2 separate regions of the Homo sapiens genome follow, and region 1 is linked to region 2. Evidence: promoter capture Hi-C in 16 types of primary human blood cells and fetal thymus (Javierre and others, 2016). All regions are on one chromosome and are shown on one strand. The core of a region is centred on a gene start or on the middle of the fragment in contact, and the rest is flanking DNA. Distances in the headings are between cores, read along the strand shown. Region 1 holds the start of NLRX1 (NLR family member X1). Region 2 holds the start of RNF26 (ring finger protein 26).

What was found. Contacts are between HindIII fragments. The CHiCAGO score rates a contact against its expected background, and 5 or more counts as called.
Region 1: the fragment with the promoter of NLRX1 here is called in contact with the fragment with the promoter of RNF26 in region 2 in 8 of 17 cell types (naive CD4 T cells, fetal thymus, non-activated CD4 T cells and 5 more); the score reaches 9.0 in naive CD4 T cells.

Annotation. Positions count from the first base shown.
Region 1 is chr11:119,167,424-119,170,123 of GRCh38, forward strand. NLRX1 (NLR family member X1) reads left to right here and starts at 1,302. Exons shown (of 10, transcript NM_001282144.2): 1 at 1,302-1,879. RefSeq lists a silencer at 1,211-1,820 and enhancers at 1,392-2,097, 2,098-2,700. The HindIII fragment of the contact is 14,996 bases long and covers 1-2,700 here.
Region 2 is chr11:119,333,078-119,335,777 of GRCh38, forward strand. RNF26 (ring finger protein 26) reads left to right here and starts at 1,450. Exons shown (of 1, transcript NM_032015.5): 1 at 1,450-2,700. The coding sequence starts at 2,046. RefSeq lists an enhancer at 1,092-1,983. The HindIII fragment of the contact is 9,565 bases long and covers 1-2,700 here.

The DNA of each region.
Region 1 (2,700 bases), core at 52-2,551, 170 kb before region 2:
CCGCCTGCCTTGGCCTCCCAAAGTGCTAGGATTACAGGCATGAGCCACCATGCCTGGCCAATTTTTGTTATTTTTAGTAGAGACGGGGGTTTCACCATGTTGGCCATGGTGACGAGTTTGAGCTGGTCCCAAACTCCTGGCCTCAGGAGATCTGCCCTCACCCCCAGCCTTCCAAAGTGCTGAGATTACAGGTGTGAGCCACCGCGGCTGGTCCTCTGATTTATTTTTTCAGATCCAGTACAAATGTTACCTCCTCTGCACTCCCTTTTCCAGACTCTCCTAATGCCTTGCCTCTGCCACTGAAGTACATCATTTGTTTGTCTGTTTTTTATATTTTTATTTTCTATTTTCATTTTAAATAGAGACAGGGTCTCACTATGTCACCCAGGCTGGTCTCAAACTCCTGGTCTCAAGTGATCCTCCTGCCTCGGCCTTGAAGTACATCATTTGTAAATGTGGTAGTTGATTCCATTAAAGTGAGGTGCCTGCCTTGCTGTGGTTGGCAGCCCAGGGCCTAGTGCTGGACCTGGCTTGTGGGGGTGAGGTGCTCAGTGCTACCCAATACCACAGTACAACGAATGAACAAATGTCTAAATGAAACATCCACATTGTTTTCAGTAAGTCCTCTTCCCAGCCCTGCCCTGGAGAGCCTCTCTGTGGGTGCCCTAGTGCACAGCTCTGTTGTGTGAACATCGTACACTCATGCTTGCATACGAAGGCGTGCCCTGGCTGTGGGTGGTGGGTGGCTCCTCCTTCTGGGCTACGTGAGCCCAGGGTGTGGAAGTGTGTGGAAGTGTAGGGATAAGGGTGGGGGCTTTGGGAACTGGGAAGCCCCAGGGCTAGGCCATGAATGGGTGTCAGACCCGAAGAGCAGGTTGGGGTGCAAGTTGTCCTTCAGCCCCCATTCTTCCTTCTTTCTTAACCAAGGTTACCAGCAGCCACACACATAGGTCTGGGCTCTGAAGAGGACCGGATACATAAGGCAGAACCCAAGGAAGCCTTAGGCTCAGGTCTCTGCCTGAAGGTAGGCTGGGGAGGCGGAGAGGGACAGAGGGAAGAATCCCCTGGACACCGCGCCTCAGGGAGGCCCAGGGGTAAGGTAGGAAGACTCAGGCCCGGGATGTTGTTCTGGCTCATCCACTTCCTAACTGAATCAACCTGCACAAGTCATTTCACCCTTCTGAGCATCAGTTTCTTCATCTGTAAAATGGGCCTAACAAGCAGCCCAGCCTGGGAGGTGGTTAGTGAGGTCACTGGGTGTCACTGGCGCTTGGGAACCTGCAGAGGGCAGTACTAGCGGCAGTGCCCGCGGGGATGGAGGCAGGGAGGGGGGACGATGGCGGGACGGGTGGCGCCGGGGTTCCAGCCCTGCGCCTGCTCCGGAGCACCGGGCCCCTCTCGCTGACCCCCTCGTCCCAGGACCCCGCAGGCCCGAGTGCCTGGGCTCGTCCTCTTTCGCGCCCGCTGCCAGGTGCCAGGGCCGCGCAGGCGGGCGGAGGTGGGCAGGAAGCGCCACGCCGAGGAGCCGGGGACTCTGGGAGCTAGCGGGAGACGCCGGCGTCCGCCCAGCCGACCCCTCTGGGCCGCGGCCGACGGCTCCCGGAACTGGGCAGCCGCGGGTAAAGGCCTAGCGGGCTTGATAACCCCTGCGCCCTGGCTGGGAGGCCGCGCTGAGCGGGGGGCAGGGCGGGCCGGGGGAGGAGGCTGTGCAAGGGCCGCGGGGAGATCCCGGCCGAGAACGAGAGGGACGGAGCTGGGCGCTGAATGGCGGGCGTTCTGGCAAGTCTCCCCCTGCGTTCCCGAGGCCACCCGAAAGTAGGAGAGCTGTTTGGGACCCAGTTTGGTGGAGGAGCTCTGGACCTGTAGGAACACCGCCCCTGTACGTTTCCTGCAGTGCCCCCTCCTTTTCTCATTGCCCTGGAGACCTGGGTGATCACCGGAGAACTGCCCTCGGCCCCGCAAGTCCCGTCTTGACTCAGTGGCCCTAGATCCGAGGTTAAACCGGAACCTAGGCTTTCTCAGGCTTCTGGAGCCCTCTCTTAACCCTTCCGCAGCCCCTGGGACGGGCCAGCACCCAGCCAGCTCCTCCGCTGGTTGGCCCTGCTAAGGCAGGTGGCCCAATGCAGCCAGTTCTCCTTAAGCGTACCCTGCCCAAGAAGCCCCGATCTCAGTGGAGGAGACCAGGTGCCAAATAGGGGCACATTCCATTTAAGTGAGTTCAGAGGCCTCAGAAAAGACTTCCCAGGGACGGAGACTTTTGAGCAGGATCTTAAAAGATTGGTTGGGGCCCGAGTGGTGGCTCGCGCCTGCAGTCCCCGCACTTTGGGAGGGCAAGGCGGGCGGATCACTTGAGCCCAGGAGTTCGAGACCACCCTGGGCAACAATGGTGAAAACCCCGTCTCTACAAAAACCAAAGCCAAAAATTAGCCAGGTGTGGTGGCACACCACTTTAGTCCTAGCTACTCAGGAGGCTGAAGCAGGAGGATGGCTTGAGCCCAGGAGGTAGAGGTTGCTGTGAGCTGAGATCGTACTACTGCACTCCAGCCTGGGCAACAGAGCGAGAGACCCTGTCTCAGGAAAAAAAAAAAAAAAAAAAAAAAAAAAAAAAAAATTGGTTGGGACTCTAACAGAGGAAAAAGGTCATTCCAAACTGGGAAGAGTGTATGAACAAATTTAGGACAGCAAGAGCAAGAATCCGGT
Region 2 (2,700 bases), core at 200-2,699:
GATCCCTTAAGAGGAGATGGTACGGGCGATGGGATCAACTGTCTTGAAAGGGAGGTGGGCACATTCTCCAAGATTTGACACTGGCGGGAGGATGCGAGTAGGAAAATAAAAACATCAGCAACACATCACAACACAACAAACCATAACCTGGCCAGGGCCTGAGAGCAGGGAGAGAGAAAGGGTAGGAAGAAGCCAGAGGAGTTTCAGCGACTGCAGTCCTTCCTCTGCACTATAGCGTACCCCTACCACGATCCCAAGGCCTCAGTAAAGGTTTGCTGCACACCTCAGCTTCTTATCAGTGATGCTTTGGAGAATGAAGGACTCTGAGGCAGTGTTCAGGGCAGACTGAAGGAGGACGGACACTTTCAGGAGCCCAGGAGTGGAGATGGAGAATTCAACTCAAGTAGGAAATTCAGCAAAGGTGACCAGGGGAAAGATAAGTCCACTAGGAGTCTGCTAAGCATCCTTGGAGTTAGTAGAAAACGCCAGGATTCCCAATATATTTGGGATGGGGTTTCAAATATATTTTGACTATTGTTTGAGTATTAAAGAAAAGGGCAGGGCCGGGCTTGGTGGCTCACGCCTGTAATCTCAGCACTTTGGGAGGCCGAGGCGGGTGGATCACGAGGTTCAGGAGTTCGAGGCCAGCCTGGCCAACATGGTGAAACCTCGTCTCTACTAAAAATACAAAAATTAGCCGGGTGAGGTGGTGGGCACCTGTACTACCCGGGAGGCTGAGGCAGGAGAATCGCTTGAACCCGGGAGGCAGAGGTTGCAGTGAGCCGAGATCGCGCCACTGCACTCTAGGGTAGGAAGGCCCAGGGTAGGAAGCTGAGCGGTTTCTAAATCTGTAGCCCCTTTTTCTCAATGACAATGAAGTAATCTTCCGAGATGTTGAAAAACCTGGTGAGGAAAGTTTGGAATAGCAGTTTGGGAATCCCCTGTAATAATCTGCTTTCCCTTGTGAACAGCAGGCACTGTCTTAAAATTTTTTTGTATCCTCAATGCACTGTAGGAGTTCAATAAATGATAGAATAGATGAATAAATAGAAGAGAATGAGGAGACGGATCTGGGCAGGCTGCGAAGGCGGTGCTATTCCAAAGCCCAGCCCAGAGGCAGTGACCTCCGACCCAAGCCAAAAAAAAAACCTCGCGTTCAGAGGCCGGGAGAAAGAACAGCTCCCAAATTGAGGGGAGTCCAAGACCCTGCTCTTTTAGAGGGTGGGGCTAGGAGAGCGTATTTCGACGCTGCCCGCCAACGAACCAATCCCCGCCTAAAGGGGGAGGGGATTTAATCTGTCGCCTCTCCTTCCCTTTGGAAAGTAAATACGTTCGGGCGCCATTCAAACGGACCAATGAGTGATCGACGTTTTTGTGGTTGGCCTTCACCGATTGGCTGGAGTTTGTCGTCCCTCCCTCCTCGTCACGCCTCTGGCTCCACCCCTTTGCACACAAGATGGCGGCGCCCAGCGGAGTAGGGGCTGCGCTTGGGGTTTGCTGAAGCTGGCTGCCTCTCCCACTCCCCTTTTGGGTGCAAAGCGCCGCTAGCGGGAAGACGGGGGCCGGGCGGGGACAGGGGCACCTGCGTAGCTGGACTGAGAGCCTGCGCCCAGCTTACATCGACCCCACCCGGCCCCGGCCCGACCCGACGCGACCCGATCCGATCCGATCCCATTCCATCCGTTCCTCGTCTCCTCCCGGTCTGACCCGTTGCCCGGCCGTGGTTCGCCACACCAGGCATCCAAAGCTGAGGTCGCTCCTACGGCCTGGGCTCGCCTTCGCTTTAGAGATGTTTGGCCTCTTCCCTCCCAAACAGCCCATCTTCAAAACCTGGACTCTTGGACTGGCACCTGGCCACCTTTCCCTCTACCAAGACTCCACTTCCGTCTTACCCACTTCTTCCTCAGATTCTTGGTACCCCCTGGGTTGGAGACTGCTCATTTTCCTTCCAAATTAATCCCAGACCCCCTAAAATATTGACAACCTTGACAACCCCCCAACCGAGGAGCCAGACTTTGTTTTGGACTAACTTCCATAGCCCTATCATGGAGGCAGTGTACCTGGTAGTGAATGGGTTGGGCCTGGTGCTGGACGTGCTGACCTTGGTGTTGGACCTCAACTTCCTGCTGGTGTCCTCCCTCCTGGCTTCCCTGGCCTGGCTCCTGGCCTTCGTCTACAACCTGCCGCACACGGTACTGACTAGTCTTCTGCACTTGGGCCGCGGAGTCTTGCTTTCATTGCTGGCCTTGATCGAAGCCGTGGTCCGGTTCACATGTGGGGGCTTGCAGGCCTTGTGTACTCTGCTGTATAGCTGCTGCTCTGGCCTAGAGAGCCTAAAGCTCCTGGGGCACCTGGCCTCTCATGGGGCACTGCGGAGCAGGGAGATACTGCACCGGGGCGTCCTCAATGTGGTCTCCAGTGGCCATGCTTTGCTGCGCCAGGCCTGTGACATCTGTGCCATTGCCATGAGCCTGGTGGCTTATGTGATCAACAGCCTGGTCAACATCTGCCTCATCGGCACTCAGAACCTCTTTTCCCTGGTGCTGGCCCTGTGGGATGCAGTGACCGGGCCTCTGTGGAGGATGACGGACGTAGTGGCTGCCTTCCTAGCCCACATTTCCAGCAGTGCTGTGGCCATGGCCATCCTCCTTTGGACACCCTGCCAACTAGCCCTGGAGCTGCTGGCCTCAGCTGCCCGCC